Regions from separate parts of the Homo sapiens genome. Here regions 2, 3 and 4 are each linked to region 1. The links are contacts of gene promoters, found by promoter capture Hi-C in human tissues and cell types (Jung and others, 2019). All regions are on one chromosome and are shown on one strand. Each heading gives the region's core, a stretch centred on a gene start or on the middle of the fragment in contact. The rest is flanking DNA. Distances are from core to core; before and after follow the strand shown. Region 1 holds the start of MYO18B (myosin XVIIIB). Region 2 has its middle 11 kb from the start of GRK3. Region 3 has its middle 29 kb from the start of GRK3. Region 4 overlaps GRK3 (G protein-coupled receptor kinase 3).

Region 1 (5,876 bases), core at 1,439-3,938:
GCTGCACCATCTCTCAACAGGAGGGGTTGGATTTGGCAGCACTCTGGAGGGGAGGGGGATCCTCCCTGGTCTCAAACCCACCTCCTCCATTTTTCAGAAAATTTAATTTCATTTTGTTTATTTTTATTTTTATTTTTATTTTTGAGACGGAGTCTCTCTCTGTCCCCAGGCTGGAGTGCAATGGCGTGATCTCGGCTCACTGCAAGCTCCACCTCCCAGGTTCATGCCATTCTCCTGCCTCAGCCTCCCAAGTAGCTGGGACTACAGGCACCCACCACCACGCCCGGCTAATTTTTTTTTGTGTTTTTAGTAGAGACGGGGTTTCACCGTGTTAGCCAGGATGGTCTCGATCTCCTGACCTCGTGATCTGCCCACCTCGGCCTCCCAAAGTGCTGGGATTAAAGGCGTGAGCCCCCGCGCCCGGCCACTTTGTTTAAATATTAAAGATATGCCACACACCACAGCAGCTGACCATGTGCTTCAAATGGGCCATTCAGACAGTTGTTTGTATCTAGCAGGACCCAGTGAAGGGCCATCTCCCCATAGCCTTGTAGGCTCACAGCCCCAGGTCCCTATCTTTTGGCAGCTGGAAGTGGTTCTGCTCAGTTTGGGGGCCCTCCATTCCCACCTCAAAATGCCATAGAAAGTCTTGATCTTACCCCTGGAGGAACACCTGCCCAATAAAATCTTTGCGATAGTTAGACCCTAATAAAGTGCTGTGCACGTTTTCCATGTTTGTGAAACATGGAAATTCCATGAGTTTTGACAGGGCAGGTGCTGAGCAACAGCCTTCTGTGGTTTTGTTAGCTCAAGTGAAAGGAAAAGCTCTTCTCCAATTTGGGTGGGCACCAGAACCACCTGTGAGGTTTAAAATCTGTGGATTTCTGGGCCCCTTCCCCCAAGACTGTTCAAAAGGTCTAGGATGAACCCAGGAATCTGCATTTTAAAACAGCCCCCCGCCTCCTGCCCCACATGAGTCTGATGGGTAGGTCGTCAACGACCGTCACTTCAAGAAAAACCTTCCTGGATGCTGAATCCTAGGAAAGATCCCAGAGGTGGTCTAGCCCAACCCCCTCAGGTTTTAGAAGGAGAAACTAAGTTCCGACTGGGGAGAGTACTCATCCAAGGTTACAGAGCCCACACCAGGATATTCAAGGTGACCAGGCCTGGAGGCAGGTGACATCAAATATTTGTTGATTGGTAACATGCAGCCCTTCAAAAGCCAGGAGACCAGGAGACTCCCTCTCCTCCTCCTCTTCCTCCTTCTCCTCCCTCCTCCACCCACTTGGCCTTTTCTTTTGGCCTTTTCCTTTGCTATTATTCTTCTCCTCCTTCTTCTCTTTCTCCTCCTGCTTTTTTCCTCCTCCTCCTTCTCTTCTTCTCCTTCTCCTCCTCCTCTTCCTTCTTTTCTCTCTCTCCTCTCCACTATTATTTTCTAGAACTCATCCATAGCCTAAGAGTATATAGACCCCTCTCTTTTCTGCTCCCAAGGTACACACTGGACATGGTACCCAGGCATAGGAGAATACAACTTAGGTCAGCAATGGATACAGCACCCAAGGCCACCATTATCCTTGTTGGAGTCTAGAAGCCCTAGTGGGACACTCAGCCTCCATGAGCTGGTGCACTGAATGAGGCAGCATCTTTTTGGACAGCCACAAAGTGAAAGTAACAGCCTCGTCGTATTCCAGGCCCTACAGGATAGAAGCCCAGATCCCCACACTTGCGGGTTGAGGCCAGACTGGACAGCTTGGAGCCGACTGGGAGCCGACTGGGCTCCCCATTCCGGGCCTCCCCACTCCTGGCCTCCTCCATGGAAAAGCTGCAGGAAGGCAGCAGCCCAGAGGCCTGTAGCTGGTGAGGTCTTCTCCTCTCCTGGGAGAGAGCTCCATGTCAAAGCATAGCCCCCTTCTGCCCCACTATGGGGCCACTGGGACCTGTGAATCTTCTTCATTCAGAGAAATGCCTGCTATCCGGGGTGCCAGATAAGACACCTTCCCTCAGACAGAGCTCAAGGAAGGTGGCATGAAATTGAAACCTTCAGCCATGAACTTCCATTGCCCTTCCCCCAACACTCATACATGCTTAATTTGCAGTTTAAAAAAGAACATTAAAATTAACATTTCGACTCAACAGCGTTGTTAACACGAAAGGGGAAGCCTGGCTCTTCCCCGACCATAACTGAACACCAGTGAAGCAGAAATTACTGGTAGTTGAGGAAAAATATAAACCCTGACGTCTGCGGGCAAAGATTCACAGTGGAGATTAACTCATGATTCTAAACACATTTTTAAAAATTATTAGCGAACAGCTGGGGCCTGAGGAGAGTGATTCTTACGAATGTCCATTTGCCCCAGCATTTTGTTCTCAAATCCTTCCACCGAAACACTCTTGTTTTCAAAGTGAGCAGCACGGGCAACAGGCAAAGGAATCAGGCCTCGGAAGCTCTCAACACCAGAAAGGCCTAAAATAGACCAAAAGACCGGAGGCCTGCCACCGCAGCCCCCAGCAGCGCATTCCGGAAAATTAAAACTCGCCGATCCGCTCGCAAGGTGCCCGTCTAAAACCCAGCCCAATAGTACCTTCTGCAAAGAGGACACAGATCACAGGAACCACGACTGTCTAAGACGTCTCCCCGGGTGGCCGCGAAGGGACCCCACCGAGCCGGGAAAGCAGGAGCGAAGGAGCACCCTCTCCACACACACCGACACACATCCCTTCCCCTTACTGCCCCTCCCCGACCCGTCCTCCCCCCACCCTCCTTCTGGGCCAATGTGATAGCAGCAGCTGAGTCGACCAGTCATTTCTAAAATTAGCTTGTGAGCTCCAGGTCTGGCCAGGAGACGGCAGCCCGGGGTGGCCGTTGACCAGGCAGCAGAGACCATGGACATATTTGGTGGCCCCTGAGCAGGGAAGGGGACAGCTCTGGACACAAGCACATGCTCTCTCGTCATCCCTGTCCCAGGGCAGGGCCACACACCCACACTCCCGCCTCTGCCCACACAGATAACCAGAGGTTGCAGGAACTGTTTGAGGAGGAGAGCTGGCCGGTTCTACATTCCAGGCAGACTCTGGAAGAAAATAACTTGAATGAATGCTGGTGCGTCGTGGTAAACAACCAGTGCATGTAAACATACCTTATGCTTAGGTAGTGGTTATCGCATGCCACACACCGAGGGCTTTCATGAACTCACTTAATGTTCCCTATGAGGTAGGGTTTTTCCCCAGCCCCACTTTACAAGTGGGGAAATTGAGACACAAAAAGTTAACCAACTTGCCCAAGGCCATGGAGAGCCAGAATTCAAACCCAGGCTGTGCGGGCCGTAGAGGAAACAGACACAACAGCAAACTAGGGGCTATAAAAAAGTGCTTTGGGCCTGGCACGGTGGCTCACGTCTGTAATCCCGGCACTTTGGGAAGCCGAGGTGGGCATATCACGAGGTCAGGAGATTGAGACCATCCTGGCTAACACAGTGAAACCCCGTCTCTACTAAAAATACAAAAACAAAATTAGCCGGGCGTGGTGGTGGGCGCCTGTAGTCCCAGCTACAGGCGGAGCTTGCAGTAAGCCGAGATCGCGCCACTGCACTCCAGCCTGGGTGACAGAGAGAGACTCCATCTCAAAAAAAAAAAAAAAAATCAGCTGGGTGGGGTAGTGGTTGTCTGTGATCCCAGCTACTTGGGAGGCTGAGGCAGGAGAATTGCTTGAACCCAGGAGGCGGAGGTTGCAATGAGCTAAGGTCACGCCACTGCACTCTAGCCTAGGCGATAAGAGACTCTATCTCAAAAAAACAACAACAAAAAAAGTGCTTTGTCCACTGCCTAAAAGGAGCAAAGTACAGACTTCAATAAATTGGATAAACCATGCAGGTCCATGCAGCTAGCAAAGGGTAGAGTCATGACTCAAATCCAAGTCTTTCTGGTTCCAAAGACCGCAATCAGCCCAGCATGATACTGCTCCTGTGAGAATTGTTTCAATAATTGCTATGTGGTGCTGCTCCTCTTTCCCCAGAGCTCATCGAGCAATATTTTCCCAAAGTACTCACTTCTGCCGAGGTCTTGAAAATTAGCATTCAATCAGAAGTTCATTGAAACACTAAGGGAAGGCTGCTTAGAAAATGGCAGTCTAGGCCGGGTATGGTGGCTCACACCTGTAATCCCAGCACTTTGGGAGGCTAAGGCGGGTGGATCATTTGAGGTCAGGAGTTTGAGACCAGCCTAGCCAACATGGTGAAACCCCACCTCTACTAAAAATACGAAAATTAGCTGGGCGTGGTGGCGGGCACCTGTAATCCCAGCAACTCGGGAGGCTGAGGCAGGAGAATAGCTGGAACCCAGGAGTCAGAGGTTGCAGTGAGCAGAGATGGCGCCATTGCACTCCAGCCTGGGCGACAAGAGCAAAACTACATTTTGAAAAAAAAAAGAAAAGAAAAGAAAGAAAAAGAAAATACAATATACATAATATACATGAGGTTGAGGAGGGGTCCCTGCGGCCCCCAGTGGAGAGTGGCATGGGACATTTAGGCCACACCAGGGGAAGAGTTTGGAGACAGGTCCCGGTGAGCTGTTTTCTCCAGGTTGTGCTAGATCATTTGACATTGAAACAAGAACCTCCCTTCTCCCGCCCCTTGCATCACAAGTCCTGAACCATTGGCTCCTGGGCTTTTCTGTCCTTGCTGTCTTTCCGACGCTGTTGGTCTGAAGTGGTAGAGTTGACATGCAGAAATGATTCTCTGGGCCCAGGGCTGGGACTCTCTATAGGCCATGACCTGCAGTGATGGTTCCGTTGACTTGAAGGGACCTCCGTTCCCCAAGGAGTCAACATGGCATGTGTTTGCTCCATTCACCTTGTTGGTACCTGTGGTGGGTGGATTTTTGCTACACAAGATGACCAAGTATTACCTTGAGCACACGGTGATTTAGGGCAGCCCTTATAAGCAAGATTTTGTCACCCAGCTGAGCATTTACTGTCCAGTCTCCAGGCTTCATTCCCCAGGCTGGGGGAAAAGACGAGAAGGTGGAGGCTTTCTTATCAAGGCATCCAGAGAACCGGCTGCTTTGGGCTCATCTGATCCAGTTGGCGTGGTGTCATGGAAAGAGTGGATCGTGGTGCTATTCTGTTGGGTGTCAGGACAGTTCAAGTGGCTGTGGGTTTGTCTGGGCAAAGACCAAGGGAATCATCACTTTACATACCTGCTGTGGGGTTGTTGTTCCTTTCCCCTGGAGATTTGGCCTCTCCTTAGGCTAAGGAGTTCTGGATCCACAAAACAGCCAAGGGATTGTGACATTTTATATGGACAATTGACTTCTATCTCTTGATCATCCCTAATTTTTTTTTTTGAGATGAAGTCTTGCTCTAGTCCTCCAGGCTGGAGTGCAATGGCACAATCTCTGCTCACTGCAACCTCTGCCTCCCAGGTTCAAGCGATTCTCCTGCCTCAGCCTCCTCAGTAGCTGGGATTACAGGCACCTGCCACCATGCCTGGCTAATTTTTGTATTTTTAGTAGAGACAGGGTTTCACCACGTTAGCCAGGCTGGTCTCAAACTCCTGACCTCAGGTGATCTGCCCACCTCAGCCTCCCAAAGTGCTGGGATTACAGGCGTGAGCCACTGCACCCGGCCCCTAATTTTTTTCTTTAAATGTTCTTAGAGTCTGGGTCTCACTCTGTCACCCAGGCTGGAATACAGTGGCCTGATCACGGTTCACTGAAGCCTCAAACTCCTTACCTCAAGTGATCCTTCCACCTTGGCCTCTCAAGTAGCTGGGACTGCAGACATACACCACACCACCCAGCTAATTTTTCTAAATTTTTGGTAGAGATGGGGTCTGGCTATGTTGCCCAGGCTGGTCTTGAACTCCTGGCCTCAAGTGATC
Region 2 (5,835 bases), core at 383-2,882, 190 kb after region 1:
TGGTAGGTCAATTTTCCCAGAAATGTCTGATTTATTTTTATTTTTTATTTTTTTTTTAATTTTTTTGAGACCAGGTAAGTCTTGCTCTGTCACCTAGGCTGGAGTGCAGTGGTGCGATCTCGGCAATCTCAGCACCCTGCAACCTCAACCTCCACCTCCCAGGTTCAAGCGCTTCTCCTGCCTCGGCCTCCCGAGTAGCTGGGATTATAGGCATGTGCCACCATGCCCAGCTAATTTTTGTATTTTTAATAGAGATAGAGTTTCACCATGTTGGCCAGGCTGGTCTCGAACTCCTGGCCTCAAATGATCTCCCTGCCTTGGCCTCTCAAACTGCTGGGATTACAGGTGTGAACCACCACACCCGGCCAGGAGTGTCTGAATTTTAAACCATATGCTTGATTATAAAATAGTAGAGTTTGCCTTTCTTAAAGGAATTTCATACAACTGGGTTGCTAGTTTGTGTGTGTGTGTGTGTGTGTGTGTGTGTGTGTGTGTGTGTGTGTGTGTGTGATATGTTAGGGGCAGCAGGTTTTTCCTTAACGCCAGGAATCATTCAGGCTGACTTTGTTCAGCTGGAATAATTTCAGGCATCGTGATACAGTTGAAAGGAAAGAGGATGAACATTAAAATAAGGAAGGCCTCAATTTGAATCTCGCTTCTGACAGTACTCGAACGATCTTAGACTAAGTGATTTCACTCTGACTCCCAGTTGTCTCTTTTATAATGTGAGGGTAATTAACTATTGTAAAGATTATTGTAAGAGCTAGATGAGATCACAGGACACACCATAAGGGCTCAGTGGGGCTGGAATGCGTGAAGTCCTCTTTGGAGCAGTCAGGCCTGATGGACCCCGTGCCTGGGCTCGAAGACACCTACACACACTCCCAGGGCCCCCACTGCTTATAACTGTTTCTGGAAAGAACTGAGCATGAAACTTGGCAGGAGACCACAAAACGTCCTGGAATCCTGGCCACTGTCAAGTCTAGAATGCTCTCCTCCAGAGAATCACATTCTTGGGGCCAGTGTTGGAGCATGGAAGACTTAGTTGGGGATTGGAACTGCTCCAGCCCTGAAGCCCTCCTTCCTGTCCCTGTAACCAGCAAATGTCACTGTCTGTCTTGCCAGGCTAACAACCTTTCTCATAAGCATCACCAAACCTGACCAGACATCAGTCCTCTGAAAAGAATCATAATCCAGCCACCATAAACCCAAAAGCCAAAGTGGTAATTATCTAAAGATGAGGAAAGGTTTCCTCCCAGGCCCTCCAGGGGCCAAGGAAGTTCTCACATTAAACAGTTACACTGATCTCCATTGATTTCTTCAGTCCATCAACCAATTATTGGCAACTTTTTCTTGGAAACCTACTGTATGTGAGGTACCGGGATGACAGTGGTGGACAGGTAGACACCCTCCACCTTCATGGAATAACATATTTGCAGGGGGGTGCATTGGCAGTTAATTGGTTAATTTATTAAAATTGTGCTATGAGCCAAAATGATGTAATAGATGTCTTTGAAGAGCCCACAGTTGGTTGTGGGTCCAGGAGGCCTTCTCTGAGGAGGTGACATTTAAGCTGAGAATGGAAGGAGGAACAGAAGGGGGTCAGAGACAGCCTCCAGGTGGACCATACAGCCAGGCAAAGGCCCTGGGCGGCAAACAAGGAGCATAGCTGGGAAGCAAAGAGTAGGATGTGTGATGACACCTGAGACTGGGCAGAGGCCAGACCCTGCAGGGCCTTGGAGGCCACACCAAAGAGCTGGGTCTTTGTCCTGAGAGCAATGAGAAGCCAGAGATGGGCTTTCAGCAGGGACGTGACATGACCCAATTGACCTTATGAAAGAGAACTCTGACTGCTCTCTGGATAATAACCTTTCCCTCCCTTTAACACAGTCCAGAAAAGGCATGTGTGGGGGTGGGGAGCCGGCTGGATTTTTCTGGAGGACTTTCTTTATAAACTGCTTTAAATAGAAATGAGAGGAAGCAAACAAATGATAGCTCTGTCCATCCAGGCCTTAATTTTTCTAAACAAACAAGAACCATGGGCAACTGCAGGCAAAAGTGTTTCCACCCTTGAGGTCTTGAAAAGAAAAGTCCCAGTCTGTTTCACCTCTTCCTCAGAAGTGCAGGGAACAGTGTGTGCTATGCAAATAGATGCCACATACAGATGGTAACTTGTTGGGCTAATTGGCTGGGGGCAAAGGCTCTCTGGGGCTCACCCAGGGATGGTGTATTTGACAACATCTGACCTCTCCCCTGTGCTCACTGATCTTTCTTACTCCATCAGTCCAGCTCCCATCCATGTGGACACTGAGCACATGATCAGGAAGCTTCCCAGGCTGAATACTTGCTCAAGAAATGTTGCTGCAGCTAACAGCCCACTGGGGAGTCTTTGTGACTCTTTTGATCCCCCCTTAGAATCTAGCAAATTGCAAGAGAAAAAGCAATTTCCCAAGACTGGAATTACAATCCCGATGTCATGGGATGTTTGGCTCAGAAAGCCTTCATCTGCTTGTCATGAGTTATGGGATTTCAGCAGCTCTCCAGGGAGTTTTCTCCCATCTACTAATGGTGTGGTTGTCTGTCACCAGCACTTAAACTGGGTGAGATATGTTGGCTGATATGATATTGTGATTTATAAAGATTAATAGATATTCTTATTACATATTCATATATATTAATATCATGTATATATTAAATATTCATGTATATATACATTTGGTCTTCATCCATTTCCTGGCACAGAGCTCCTAAAATCCTTGGAACCTCCAAAATGTTAAGAGTGTCTTTTGTATGTTAGTGAGATGACTGGTGGCTAGGGTCCCTAGACAACTTCAAGATGGGGACTGGTTACCCACAAAACCAAGGCATGATTAGACGGTTGAGACTAAAAAACAAAAATAGGATCTGGCTCTGTTGCCCAGGCTGGAGTGCAGTGGTGTGATTACTGCAGCCTCAACCTCCCAGGCTCAAGCAATCCTCCCACCTCAGCCTCTTGAGTAGCTAGAACTACAGGCACACACCATTATGCCCAGCTATTTTTTTTTTTTTTTTTTTTGTAGAGATAGGGTCTCACTATGTTCCCCAGGCTGGTCTCAAATTCATGGGCTCAAGCCATCCTCCCTCCTCAGCCTCCCAAAGTATTGGGATTACAGGTGTGAGCCACCACATGTAGCCTAGAGTTGAGACTTTTAATTCCACCCCTTAGCCTCTGAGGAGCAGAGAGGGGCTGACGGGTGAGTTGACTACCAATGGCCAGTGATTTAATCAATCATGCCTATAGAATGAAGCCTCCAGATAAATGCAGAAAAACCAAGTGGGTTCAGAGAGCTTCCATATAGCTGAACACATGGAGGTCCTGTAGTATGGTGTGCTCAGAGAGAGCAGAGATGCTCCTAGCCCCAGGACTTGCCCTATGCATCTCTTCCACCTGGCTGCTCATCTGTATCTTTTGTAATACCCTTGTAATAAGCCAGTAAACACAGATACGGTGTTTTCCTGAGTTCTGTGAGTCACTCTAGCAAATTAATTGAACTTGAGGAGGGGGTCATGGGAACCCCAATTTATAGCTGATTGGTCAGAAGTGTAAGTGACAACCTACTACTTGCAATTGGTCAGAGTGAATGGAATTAGAGGACGCCCAGTTGGTGTCCCCTGAATAATTGACTGGTTGCTGATGGGAAGAAATCTCCACACTTCTGGTGTCAGAAGTGCTGTGTTGAGTGGTATATGAAAGTAGAAAAAACACTTGGAATTTTCCTATGTCTATTAGCTGATCAAATCAGATTTCTTTTTTTTTTTTTTCATTTTTTTTTTATAGACAGGGTCTTGCTCTGTTGCCCAGGCTGATGTGTGATGGCATGATCATCATGGCTCACTGCAGCCTGGACCTCCTGGGCTCAAGCAATCCTCCCACCTCATCCTCCCAAGTACTAGGACTGCAGGCACACACCACATGCCCAGCTAATTTTTTTTTTTTGTAGAGATGGGGATCTTGCTATGTTACCCAAGCTGGTTTCAAACTTCTGCTCTCAAGCAATCCTCCTGCCTCGGCCTCCCAAAGTGCTGGAATTGCAGGCATGAGCCACCATGCCCAGCCAAATCAGATTTCTTGATTACATTCTTTATCTCCATGCAGAGACAAATCTTTTGTATTAGTCATTGCTGTGTAACAATATGACCACACTTAACAGCTTAAAACAACAAGAAGACATTTTTGCAGCCAAAAAACATGAAAAAAGCTCAACATCACTGATCATTAGAGAAATGCAAATCAAAACCACAATGAGATACCATCTCATGCCAGTCAGAATGCAATTATTAAAAAGTCAAGGAACAACAGATGCTGGCAAGGCTGTGGAGAAGTAGGAATGCTTTTGCTCTGTTGGTGGGAATGTAAATTAGTTCAACGATTGTGGAAGACAGTGTGGTAATTCCTCAAGGATCTAGAACCAGAAATCCCATTTGACCCAGGAATCTCATTACTGGGTATATACCCAAAGGAATACAAATCATTCTATTATAAAGATACATGCACGTATATGTTTATTGCAGCACTATTCACAATAGCGAAAACATGGAACCAACCCAGATGCCCATCAATGATAGACTGGATAAATAAAATATGGTACATAATACACCATAGAATACTATGCAGCCATAAAAATGAACGAGATCATGTCTTTGCAGGGACATGGATGGAGCTGGAAGCCATTATCCTCAGCAAACTAACACAGGAACAGAAAACCAAACATCGCATATTCTCACTCATAAGTGGGAGCTGAACAATGAGAACACATGGATACAGGGAGAGGAACACACACCAGGGCCTGTCAGGGGTGGGTGGAGGAGGGAGAGCACCAGGATAAATAGCTAATGTATGTGGAGCTTAATACCTAGGTGCAGCAAACCACCATGGCATACACCTATGTAACAAACCTACACGTCCTGCACATATATCCCAGAAATTAAAATAAAATTTAAAAATAAATAATTTTTTTAAAAAAACTATACATTTATTATCTCAAAGTTTCTGTAGGTCAGGGGTCTGGGTATAGATTAGCAAGGTCCTCTACTCAGGGTCTTACAAGGCTGCAGTTACGTGTCAGCCAGGGCTGTGGTTTCATGTGAGGTTTACTGGGGAAGGATCCACTTCCAAGTTGATGTAAGTGCTGCCAAAATTTAGTTTCTTGTGGTCTATTGGATTTAGGCTGTTAGATTTTTGCTGACTGTTGGCCAGAGGCTTCCCTTAGCTCCTAGAAGTAGCACTAATTTCCTTGCCACATGGGCCTCCCAAACATGGCCCAAAGCATCTCAAGATGGGCATTATAATCTTTTACATCCCATCACCTTTGCATATTGTATTGGTTAAAATCCAGTCATAGATCCCACACACGCTCAAAGGGAAGGGCCCACAAAAGGCCAGGGATGCCAGAAGATGGGATCATGGGGACGCCCATGAGCCTAGAGTCTGTCTGCCACAACTTGAGAAAGCTTTCCTCCATTGAAGAGAATAAAACTGTTAGCCACTGGTTCAAGTAGCTTGCTATTTCATGTATATATTCTTAGTCCATTGGAGTCTTAGTCTGAGCTACTATAACAGAATACCCGAGACTGGGTAATTTATAAACAATAGACATTTCTTTTCTCATGGTTCTGGAGGCTGGGAAGTCCAAGAGCAAGGCGCCAGCAGGTTCCATTGTCTGGCAAGGGCTGATCTTTGCATCTAACACAGTGCCTTGAGCACTGCATCCTCCAGAGGAAAGGAACTCTGTATCCTCACATAATGGAAGGCAGAAGGGCATGCCAGACTGTGTGAAGCCTCTTTTATGAGGGCCT
Region 3 (5,742 bases), core at 553-3,052, 210 kb after region 1:
CCCAGCTAACTTTTTGTATTTTAGTAGAGACGGGGTTTCACCATGTTGCCCAGGGTGGTCTTGAACTCTTGAGTTCAGGTGGTCTGCCCGCCCCGGCCTCCCAAAGTACTGGGATTACAGGCATGAGCCACCACGCCTGGCTGATTTCATTGTCTTTTAAGGCTGCATAGTATTCCATGGTGTGTATGTACCACATTGTCTTTATTCAATCCACCATTGATGGGCACCTGGGTTGATTCCATGTCTTTGCTATTGTGACTAGAACTGAGATAAACATATGAGTGCATGTGCTTTTTGGGTGGATTGATTCATTTTCCTTTGGGTGTAGTTTTTTTTTTTTTTTTTTTTTTTTGAGATGGAGTCTCACTCTGTCACCCAGGCTGGAGGGCAGTGGCGTGATCTCGGCTCACTGCAAGCTCTGCCTCCCAGGTTCACCCCATTCTCCTGCCTCAGCCTCCCAAGTAGCTGGGACTACAGGTGTCCACCACCATGCCCGGCAAACTTTTTGTATTTTTAATAGAGAGGTGGTTTCACCGTGTTAGCCAGGATGGTCTCGATCTCCTGACCTTGTGATCCGCCCGCCTCAGCCTCCCGAAGTGCTGGGATTACAGGCGTGAGCCACCGCGCCCGGCCTCCTTTGGGTATAGTTTTAATAACCATTGAGGCCGGTGCAGTGGCTCATGCCTGTAATCCTAGAACTTTGGGAGGCCAAGGCGGATGGATCATCTGAGGTCAGGCGTTCGAGATTAGCGTGGCCAACATGGTGAAAACCCATCTCTATGAAAAATACAAAAATTAGCTGGGTGTTGTGGCGCACGCCTGTAATCCCAGCTACTCGGGAGGCTAAGGTAGGAGAATCGCTTGAACCAGGAGGCGGAGGTTGCAGTGAGCCGAGATTGGGCCGTTGCTCTCCAGCCTGGGAGACAGAGAGAGATTCCATCTCAAAAAAAAAAAAAAAAAAAACCCAAAAAAAACCATTGAGATAAATCAGTGAACATGAGAGTTACAGTGGAGTGGTCGATGGTATTGTTTGTTCATGACTCTTCTTTCTCTCCCACCTTGGCCATGGCTTCTCTTTAGAGAGTGTACGATGCTACCCCACTGACTTGAGCTGCCGCCCTGTGATTTACTTTGGCCAATGGCCCACAAGCAGAAATGATGCAAACAGAGGCTTTAAGTATATTTATGTGCCGTGGCTTAGCCTCTTGTATACTTGCTGTCACCATGATGAGTATGCTCCAAGTAGTCACTGCTCCTTTATCCTGGTCCTAACGTGAAAGACACACGGAGCTGTCCTGAATCTGAGCCCAGTTAACTGTGGCTGATATCCAGACCCATGGGAGAGAAATGAATGTTGTTTGTCACAAGCCGCTGAGATCTTGGGCTCACTGTGCAGCCTTATCCCAGCAACAGCTGACTACAAGTTGATTGTTACCAAAATATTTGGACACTACCCATGTTTCTTCTTTATTGTTTTATGGTGACTCAGTAGAAGATGAAGATATCTTTCTAGGAAAAGCAAGCAGTGCCCCTCCAAAGAGACAATCACAGTGGAAGAAGAGTTGATCTTACCCACAATATTTATGTCTTGTGCCACTCAAGAGTTTCCGTCAGTCTTTTCTTTGAATGCCCCCATTTTTTGTTTATTTCACTTATTATTTTTTCTTTGTAGTTATTAATCATCCAAACTGTAGGAACTTCTAGAGTGGCAGTGATGTGTTAAACAGAGCAGACACTTCACAGATATGATCCCTAGATCACGCAATATCTTTGTAAAATTTGCTTTATTGCCTTCAATTTACACATAAGGAAACAAAGGTCCAGAGATCTTAATTGCATCACACAGCTGGTAGGTAAGTAACAGCCTTCAGGCTCAGATGTATGCCTTTGGTTTCTACAATCTTTGTTTCAATATTGCAACTCTTTTATTTTATTTATTTTAGAGACAGGGTCTCGCTCTGTTGTTCCAGATGGGGTGCAGTAGTGTGATCATAATTCACTGCAGCCTCAACCTCCCAGCCTCAAGCAATCTTCTTGCCTCAGTCCCCCAAGTAGCTGGGGACTACAGGTGCATGCCACCACCCCTAGCTAATTTTTTAAATTTTTTTTTGTAGAGGTGGGTGTCCCTGTGTTGCCCAGGCTGGTCTCAAATTCCTGGCTTCAGCTTCCCAAAGTGCTAGGTGTGCCATCGTGCATGGCCTTATTTTTATTTTTATATATTTAGAGAGTACAAATGCAGGTTTCTTACATACATATATCCCATAGTGGTGAAATCTGGGCTTTTAGTCTACCCATCATCAGAATAGCGAACATTGTACCCAATAGGCAATTTTTCAACCCTCATGCCCCCTCCTACCCTCTCACCTTTTGCAGCCTCCAGTGTCTAGTGTACCCCGTATGTCCATGATTACAACTATTTTTAAAGTGGACAACTAGAACTATGGGATGGGTTCAGAAATGCATATCTAATGTGGGGTTCAGAGACACTGGAAGCTTGGTGAGAGAGGTACCTTTAGATAAGAAGATGTCTCAGAGATCCCCAAGCTACCACCTAATTTAACAGTGACTGTTTATTGAGCACTTTACATGCCAGGTGCACTATGCCTTGGAGAGGCAGAGATGTGCAAAGATTCACATGGTAAGGAGATTGAGTTTTGTTCTGAGGGTAAGGGGGATCCACAGAAAAGTTTTCAGTGAGGGCTATGAGGGAGCAGTAAGAAGGCAATTACAGGAGTCCAGGAAAATATTGGCCTGGACTGGGTTAAGGTAGTGGTGGGTAGAGAGAGGTTCAAAAGGCACTTGGCACAGGCAAAAAAAAGAAAGAAATAGACAAACCGAACTTCATGAAAATTAAAAACTTTGGTGCATTGAAGGACATTCTCAACACAGTGAAAAGGAAACCTATAGAATGGGAGAAAGTATTTGCAAGTCATATACCTGATAAGGGATTCATATCCAGAATATATAGAGAACTCCTACAACTCAACAACAACAAAGGCCAAACAACCCAGTTCAATCCAAACAACTTGAATAGACATGTCTCTGAAAGGGATATACAAATGCCAATAAGCACAAGAAAAGATGCTTAGAATCACTAATCATTAGGGGAATGGCAACCAAAACCACAGTGAGATACCACCTCACACCCATTAGGATGGCTACGATCAAAAAAACAGAAAATGACAAGTGTTGGCGAGGATGTGGAGAAATGGGAACACCTATGCCCTGCTGGTGGGAATGTAAAATGGTACAGTCTCTGTAGAACACAGTATGGCAGTTCCTGAAAACCGAAATAGAATTTTCACATCATCTAGCAATTCCTCTTTAGAGTATATACCCAAAAGAATAGGAAGCAGGGTCTTGAAGAGTTGTTTGTACACTAATGTCCACAGCAACATCATTCACAAGAGCTGAAAACTGTGGAAGCAACCCAAATGTCCATCCACCAATGAAAGGATAAGTAAATGTGGTATATCCATACAAAAGAATACTAGTCAGCCTTAAAAGGGAAGGAAATTCTGGCACATGCTACAACATGGATAAACCTTGAGGATACTATGCTAAGTGAAATAAACCAGTCACAAAGAGGCAAATACTGTATGATTCGCTTATGTGAAATACTTAGAGTTCTCAAAATCATAGAGACAGAAAGTAGAATGGTGGTTGCCAGGAGCTGGGGGTTGGGGCGAATGAGGAGTTACTGTTTTATAGTCTCAGTTTTACAAAATGAAAAGGGTTCTTAAGATAGACTGTCGTGACAGTTGCACAACAATATGAATGTACATTTAATATCACTGAATTGTACACTAAAAAATTAAGGTGGTAAATTGGCCGGGTGCTGTGGTTCATGCCTATAATCCCAGCACTTTGGGAGGCTGAGGCGGACAGATCACCTGAGACCAGGAGTCTGAGACCAGCCTGGCCAAAATGGTGAAACCCCGTCTCTACTAAAAATTCAAAAATTAGCTGGGTGTGGTGGTGGGTGCCTGTAATCCCAGCTACTCAGGAGGTTTAAGCAGGAGAATTTCTTGAACCCGGGAGATGGAAGTTGCTGTGAGCTGAGATCACGCCACTGCACTCCAGCCTGGGCAACAGAGCAAGACTCTGTCTCAAAAAAAAAAAAAAAGAAGGAAAAAGAAAAATAAAAAAGTGGTAAATTTTATGTTAAGTGTATTTTACTACAATTAAAAATCAAAATAAATAAGTGATATTTTACAGGCACTTAGGAAGTAAAACAAGTAGGGCTGGTTCTCATTTATTGCATGCAGGTGGACGGGGCTAAGGAAAAGAAAGGAATAAAAGCAAATCCCAGATTTCTGGCTCTGGCACCCGCATTACTAGTAGCAGCATTCTTTAAGACAGGGAGTACTAGGGAAGGATTCATCCCTCCACACATTTGCCTTTGGCTGGTATGTCTCTTTAGTCTCCTTTATCTATGGCTTCTGCCTCTGCCTATTTTTTAAAATTTTCCTTGCAATTGACATATTTTTTAAAACTGAATCATTTGCTCTGTAGAGTACCTCACAATCTGGGTTCCATTGGTTGTATTCTTGTGGCATCTTTTAATATGTTGTTCCTTCTCTTGTATGTCCTGTAAATTGGTCATTAGATTTAAAGATTTGATCTGATTCAGGTTTGAGTTTTCAGCAAGAATATTTCGTAGTTAGTTGTATTATTCAATCAGCAGGCTCATAACGTCTGGCCGTCTCTCTTCGGGGGATTTTAGTAGCCGATGATGCATTGCCTAGAGCCATTATTTCCTTAGGCACTTGCAAAATGGCTCTATTTTAAGTCTATCACTCCTTCCTATTCGTTGGGCTGCTTCTATGGAGAAAGCTTTTCTTCATCGACTAAGATACAGTACCTACAGGAAAGGCAAGATAAATGCTCGATTCTTTTATTTGCCAATTTTCAGAATAATAAGTTGGTTCTTTAAAATACCTTCCAAAGGAGGCCAGTGAATTTTGGTTTGATTTGTTTTGTTTTTAGGATCATTGTTAACTCATGGAGTTTAGAATAGTTCATGCGTTTCACCGCATTGTAGTTATTCTTCTTTCAGATGCTCACAGAATTTCATCTTTAGCCAGCGAGAGCCAAGTGGGTTGGTTCCTGAGCCCTTTTGACACAACCATAGTAATCTTTGATAGCCTCCTTTCTTCTGATTAACAAGATGTCCTAAGATCATCTTGTACATTTCCTACCCCACTCTTGGAATCAGCCATTTCTCCCAGGAGCTGTAATTCCTTTCACTTTGAAATTGTTCTTAGAGACCATAATCAGTGTAATAGCTGGGTTGGTCATTGTTTCTAGGTAGTAGGTTGGTGCAAAAGAATTTGCAGTTTTTGCCATTACTTTTAATGGCAAAAGCTGCAATTACTTTTGCACCAACCTAAAATTTCAATAATCAAAACTAGGAAGTAAAAATTTTAAAAAAGAAATGCATCATAAGTTCATACTATTTCCCGTTCAAATTTAGGATTACAAGGCTTCATTCACTTAGGTGATCTTGTATTTTTATATGTTTTCTCTTATGCTGAAAATCTTAGTTGCTGACAACACTAATTTACCAATCTATTTATTTTACCCACTATGTATTAAAATAACAATACCAATATTTTTGCTAATAGTATGATTAATGAGAATAGTTTCTTTCTTTTTTTGTTTTTATTGTTATTTTGTACAGTCAAATTGCTGTGCTTAAAGTCACATATATGTGGTTAAGTCACTAAGCCAACACAGTTA
Region 4 (5,550 bases), core at 2,189-4,688, 160 kb after region 1:
CTAAAGTATGATCTCTTACTGTGCTTTCTCCTTTCAATAGCCTTCTTACATTTTTTTTTTCTCATCCTTCTATAGCAAGCCTTCAGGTCAAGAAGTTGTAAATCTGTCCACTCTGGTTGGATTAGTCGGGACTCTTAGGTTGCAAACGAGCCTCTTAAAACTCTACCCGCATCTTTGTAATCAGTGTCACAGAGCCTCTTTTTGAGTCATCTAATGCAGTTTCCAAAAAACACATCATCCTCCCGTCAATCTAAGTTGTTTGAGATGCAGTACACTTGCATCTTGCATCTGTGTATGATGCTGTCATAGAAATTATATAGTACATCTTAAGTCACCAGTGCTATTACACATGACATTGGGAAAACTGAGGCTTCCATTAGCCCTGCAGGGACACAGTTGTGATATTCACACCTAGCCATCTTCTCTACTGTTTTGAAAAATTATTGCAAAAGTTTTCAAACATGCAAAAGGATATAATATAGTGAACACCTAGACCCATCACTCAGCACCTCATTGGAAGTTACCAAGATTGTAATCTGCTACTTTTCCCTACCCCACCCTCCATTTTTTTTCTTTTACTTTTCTCTTTTTTTGAGACAGAGTCTCACTCTGTTGCTCAAATTAGAGTGCAGGAGTGCAATCTCAGCTCACTTCAGCCTCACTCTCCTGGGTTCAAGTGATCCTCCCACCCCAGCCTCCCAAGTAGCTAGGACTACAGGTGTGTGCCACCATGCCCAACTAATTTTTGTAGAGATGAGGTTTTGGTGTGTTGCCCAAGCTGGTCTCGAACTCCTGGTTCAACTGATCCGCCTGCCTCGGCCACCCAAAGTGCTGGAATTACAGGCATGAGCCACTCCACTCGACTTATCCCACCTTTATTTTTTAAAGCATTTTAAAACAAATCTCAGCCAGGCACAGTGGCTCATCTGAGGATCACCTGAGGTCAGGAGTTCAAGACCATCCAGGCCAACATGGTGAAACCCCGCCTCTACTAAATACAAAAAATTAGCTGTGGGCATGGTGGCAGTCGCCTGTAATCCCAGCTAGTTGGGAGGCTGAGGCAGGAGAATTGCTTGAACTCAGGAGGCGGAGGTTGCAGTGAGCCGAGATTGTGCCGTTGCACTCCAGCCTGGGCAACAAGAGCAAAACTCCATCCCAATCAATCAATCAATCAATAACAAATCTCAGACCACATGTCGTTTTAGCCTATTTCAGTTTGCATTTCTAAAAATTATGGATAATTTTCTCATATAAACACAGTCTATTATCACTTCCCAACTCCCCCTTCAAATTGATAATTCCTGAAGATCCAATGCCCAGTCTCTAACCACATTTCCATGACTCAAGTGTCTTTTGTATAGCTGGTGGGTTTCAATCTGGATCTAACCAAGATCCACACATTCATCTGATAGCGCCATCTCTTAAATCTCTTCTGGGATTTAAGGCAGACAGGGAGAGTACCTGACTGTCCCCACCCCTGACCTTTATCTGCAGTGACCCCCTGAGGAAGCCGAGGAAGCCATCATGGGGGATGCCCTTTCTGTCTGTTGCTTCCCTATAAGGTCTTTCACTGTTCCTCTCTCTCCATATTTCCTATAAACTGAAAGTTACCTCAAAAGGCTTGATCATATTCAAGTCCACCATTTGGGGGCAGGAATACTTTTGAGATGGTTTTGGTACTTATATTGCCTCACATTAGGGGGTACACAGTTATTTCATCCTAGTGATGCAAATTTTACTTAGAAAATTCAGTTGGTGATAGTCTGATCTCTCCATCTGAAATTCCCCATCAATCTTTCATTTAGCGATATCATACATTGATGATCTTTGCCTAAATCAATATTTTCATTAAGAATTGCAAAATGGGGATTTTTTTAAAATTTCGCCATTCCTTCCACATTAATTTGCTGCCATTCTTCTGTAAAGAAGTCCCCTCGGCCAGGCTCGGTGGCCCACTCCTATAATCCCAGCACTTTGGGAGGCTGAGGCGGGCAGATCACGAGGTCAGGAGATCGAGACCATCCTGGCTAACGCGGTGAAACCACGTCTCTACTAAAAATACAAAAAATTAGCCGGGTGTGGTGGTGGGTGCCTGTAGTCCCAGCTACTCAGGAGGCTGAGGCAGGAGAATGCCGTGAACCCGGGAGATGGAGCTTGAAGTGAGCTGAGATCATGCCACTACACTCCAGCCTGGGGGACAGAGTGAGACACCATCTCAAAAAAAAAATAATAAAAATAAAAAAAGAAGTCCCCTCATTCATTGGTCGGGCACAGAGGCTCAAGCCTGCAATCCCAACTTTTTGAGAGGCTGAGGTGAACAGATCATTGAGCCCAAGAATTCTCGACCAGCCTTGGCAACATGGCGAAACCCCATATCTACCAAAAAAAAAAAAATTAGCCAGGCATGGTAGCATGTGCCCTTAGTCCCAGCTATGTGGGAGGATCAGTTGAGCCCAGGAGGTTGAGCCTGAAGTGAGCTGTGATCACACCACTACTGTACTCCAGCCTGGGTGACAGAGCGAGAGCGTGTCACAAAGAAAAAAAAAAAAAGAATTCCTGTCCTGCCACCCCAACCATCAACTAGGGTTCTAAATACCCTAAGAAGCAGTTTTTACAGGAAAGGCAGGATAAATGCTTAATTCTTTACCTTTTCAATTGCCACTATTCAGAGACAGAGTAGGTGCCTTGGTTCTACTGCTGGTGGTGATCAATGAGGTGTTCTCTTCTGTCTTGTTTGGGGATCTCTTGTGGATAGCATGAGATATCCACAAACTCATGCTTTGTTATTAGTTTGTTATTGCAGCCATAATAAATTACCACAAACTTGGTGGCTTAAATCAAGCAGAAATTGACTCTCTTACAGATCTGCAGGTCAGAGGTCTGAAATGGGCCTCCCTGGGCTGAGGTCGGTCAGAGTGTCAGTAGGACTGCGGTCTCACATGGAGGCTGTAAGGGACAGGCCATTTCCTTGCCTTTTCCAGATTCTACAGGCTGCCCACATTCCTCGGTCCATGGCCCCTTCCTCCTTCCTCAAAAGGCCAGCAGTGGTTGGTTGACTCATTCTCATGTTGCATCGCTCTGACACCAACTCTCCGCCTCCCTGGCGGTAACACTAGGGCCCACCTAGATAATCCAGGATAATCTCTTTATCTTAAACTCAGCACCTTAGCTGCTATGATGCCACCTACACCCCTAACGCCCCCTTGTCATATAACATAACATGTTCATAGGTTCTGGGGATTAAGATGTGGATATTTCAGGGGGGCATCATTCTGCCCACCACAGGGGGTTTGTATCAGTCATATTCTTTTGATGTTCAGGGTGTCTCACTTTTAGCCAGTGGAAACCCCTTCTTCTGGCCTCAGAGTTTGTTAGCGAAGGTGCCCACCACATTTCTTGGATGGCTCCTTTTTTTTCTGATACAACAGGTAACAGAGGGTCCAGGCTCATCTCACCCACACCTGGAGTCAGGCGCAGGTGTATGAGGTGCCTATGTGATGGAAATGCAATTGTTTCTTCGATTTTTTTAAAGACTGGGGATGATAAGCACACATATTTGAAAAAAAAATCATGAATTTCAAATAACCTTCCAATTCAAATTTGATCTTACAGAATTTTTATTTAACTCTTATCTTGTACTCATGTATCTCTTCATTTACACTTAAATTCTTGGTTCTAACCAAAAATGACATTATTCTTTTTTGTTTTACCCAAATATATATATGAAATAATTGTTTATATGAAATAATTTCAAACTAAAAATAATATTACTCTTAACAGTAAAGCTTCTGAATAAAATTAGAATTTCTTTGCAGCTCTACGTAGAGTAGACTATGCCCATATCTTACTTATTTCTAGGTGTCTATCTTAGAGAAAGGCTCACACATAGACCCAAAGGCACCTATGTAAGAACATTCACTGCAATTGCTCTTGGGCTTATGAGCACAGGGTCAAGTAGATCAGAGTTCTGACATCTCATGCAGCAATTCCAAACACTGAACAGATCTATATACTGCTGACGAGGAAAAGCTCCACGTGCATTACTAGGTGAAGAAGGCAAAAGCCATAAGTGGATTTACTAATGTGCTCCTGACAAATACAACTCTGTCCCAAGCTGAGCTCAACAACCTTTCTGGGTAGGGGTTAGATATGCAACCCGCTCCATTAATTTTCCATCACAATTTAGAATGAACTGCTAATGAGTGCCAAGTTTAACATTAAAAATCCTTTACGGGCCAGGCACGGTGGCTCATGCCTGTAATCCCAACACTTTGGGAGGCTGAGGCAGTTGAATCACTTGAGGCCAGGAGTTCGAGACCAGCCTGGGCAATGTGGCAAAACCCTGTCTCTACAAAAAGTAGAAAAATATTAGCCAGGCATGGTGGTGCACATCTGTAGTCCCAGCTACTCAGGAGGCTGAGGCAGGAGAATCAGTTGAACCTGGGAGGCGGAGGTTACAGTGAGCCGAGATCACACCGCTGCACTCCAGCCTGGGCAAGAGAGCGAGACTGTCTCAAAAAAAAAAAAAATCCTTTATTGTATCTAGAGTAACTGACAAACGTGTTCAAGTCAAGGATACTCATTTACCAACTGGCAGGCATGGAGATGAATTTTAATTAAGAATGCACCTAAAATCACAAAAAGATGTTTGGGGTAAGAAAACATTAAGAACTCATGACATGTAGCTTAGTTGGTTTCTCAAGTTATAACACTGCCATCATTATTAATAACAATCTTATTAGTTAACATGGAATCTATGACATCTTTTCTTCTAGGAAATTATTAATGTATTTATTATTAAGTTAACATGGCCAGTGAAATTATGCTACTGGAGCACTTCCTCAGACCCCTGCAGTGGATAATCTTTACTGAATGAATACAATGCATTTTCAAATTGTGTCACTAACGTCTGAAATTGACAGTGCTCCTCTAGTCAAATCCATGAGCCCCCTCCTCATAAAATAAGATTCACCAGGAAAAAGACAGTCTGAAGGTTTTTCTGAAAATACGCTGAATTTGGAATCAGAAAACCTGGATTTGAAGCTCAGCTGCACCATTTGTTATCAGCGCGACCTTGAGCAATTAGCTTCTCCCTGAACCTGAATTTCCTTCTTCTAAAATAAGATGATGAGTATTACAGAGCCATTTCCAAGAATCTCTAAATAAAGAAAAAAGCTTGCTCTCTGAGAATAAAAACTTTAAATCAATACATAACACAAATGGCCAAGAAATGGCAAAGGTTTCTGGTCTAGGCAGCTTTGGCAGTGGTTTCATGAACTATAGTCTCAAATCCAGTGGACGTGTGCCCACCAATTACAATGGGAAACATGAAAATATGGAAAGATGACTTGTCCCAAAGCCACTGTAGTCAGGGATTTCAGGTACTGGACATCCAGCGTAAGCCACTCCTAGGAGGGGTGACTTGGTCCCAAGTAACCATCTGACTCATCCGACTGTGGGTCTGTGCTCGCTATACCACCTTCTGATGGTCGTTTTGCTTCCCACAAGGGGGACCCACGAGAGAGAGCTCCAGCCACACAGACGCTGGGC

What was found. The method cuts DNA at HindIII sites, captures the fragments that hold promoters and counts their contacts. A contact is called where the count stands out against the background at its distance.
Region 2: a fragment that was not itself captured here is called in contact with the fragment with the promoter of MYO18B in region 1 in 1 of the 25 tissues and cell types used here (lymphoblastoid cells).
Region 3: a contact is called between a fragment that was not itself captured here and the fragment with the promoter of MYO18B in region 1, in 1 of the 25 tissues and cell types used here (dorsolateral prefrontal cortex).
Region 4: a contact is called between a fragment that was not itself captured here and the fragment with the promoter of MYO18B in region 1, in 5 of the 25 tissues and cell types used here (dorsolateral prefrontal cortex, heart right ventricle, mesenchymal stem cells and 2 more).

What each region holds. Positions count from the first base shown.
Region 1 is chr22:25,739,000-25,744,875 of GRCh38, reverse strand. It overlaps MYO18B (myosin XVIIIB), which reads right to left and starts at 2,688. Exons shown (of 44, transcript NM_032608.7): 1 at 2,583-2,688. The HindIII fragment of the contact is 19,978 bases long and covers 1-5,876 here.
Region 2 is chr22:25,550,916-25,556,750 of GRCh38, reverse strand. No RefSeq gene overlaps it. Among named protein-coding and RNA genes, the nearest start is that of GRK3, 11 kb to the left of the region's middle. The HindIII fragment of the contact is 4,555 bases long and covers 1-3,909 here.
Region 3 is chr22:25,532,376-25,538,117 of GRCh38, reverse strand. No RefSeq gene overlaps it. Among named protein-coding and RNA genes, the nearest start is that of GRK3, 29 kb to the left of the region's middle. The HindIII fragment of the contact is 3,727 bases long and covers 1-3,665 here.
Region 4 is chr22:25,576,158-25,581,707 of GRCh38, reverse strand. The region is part of intron 1 of GRK3 (G protein-coupled receptor kinase 3); the gene reads right to left. Among named protein-coding and RNA genes, the nearest start is that of GRK3-AS1, 14 kb to the right of the region's middle. The HindIII fragment of the contact is 6,370 bases long and covers 254-5,550 here.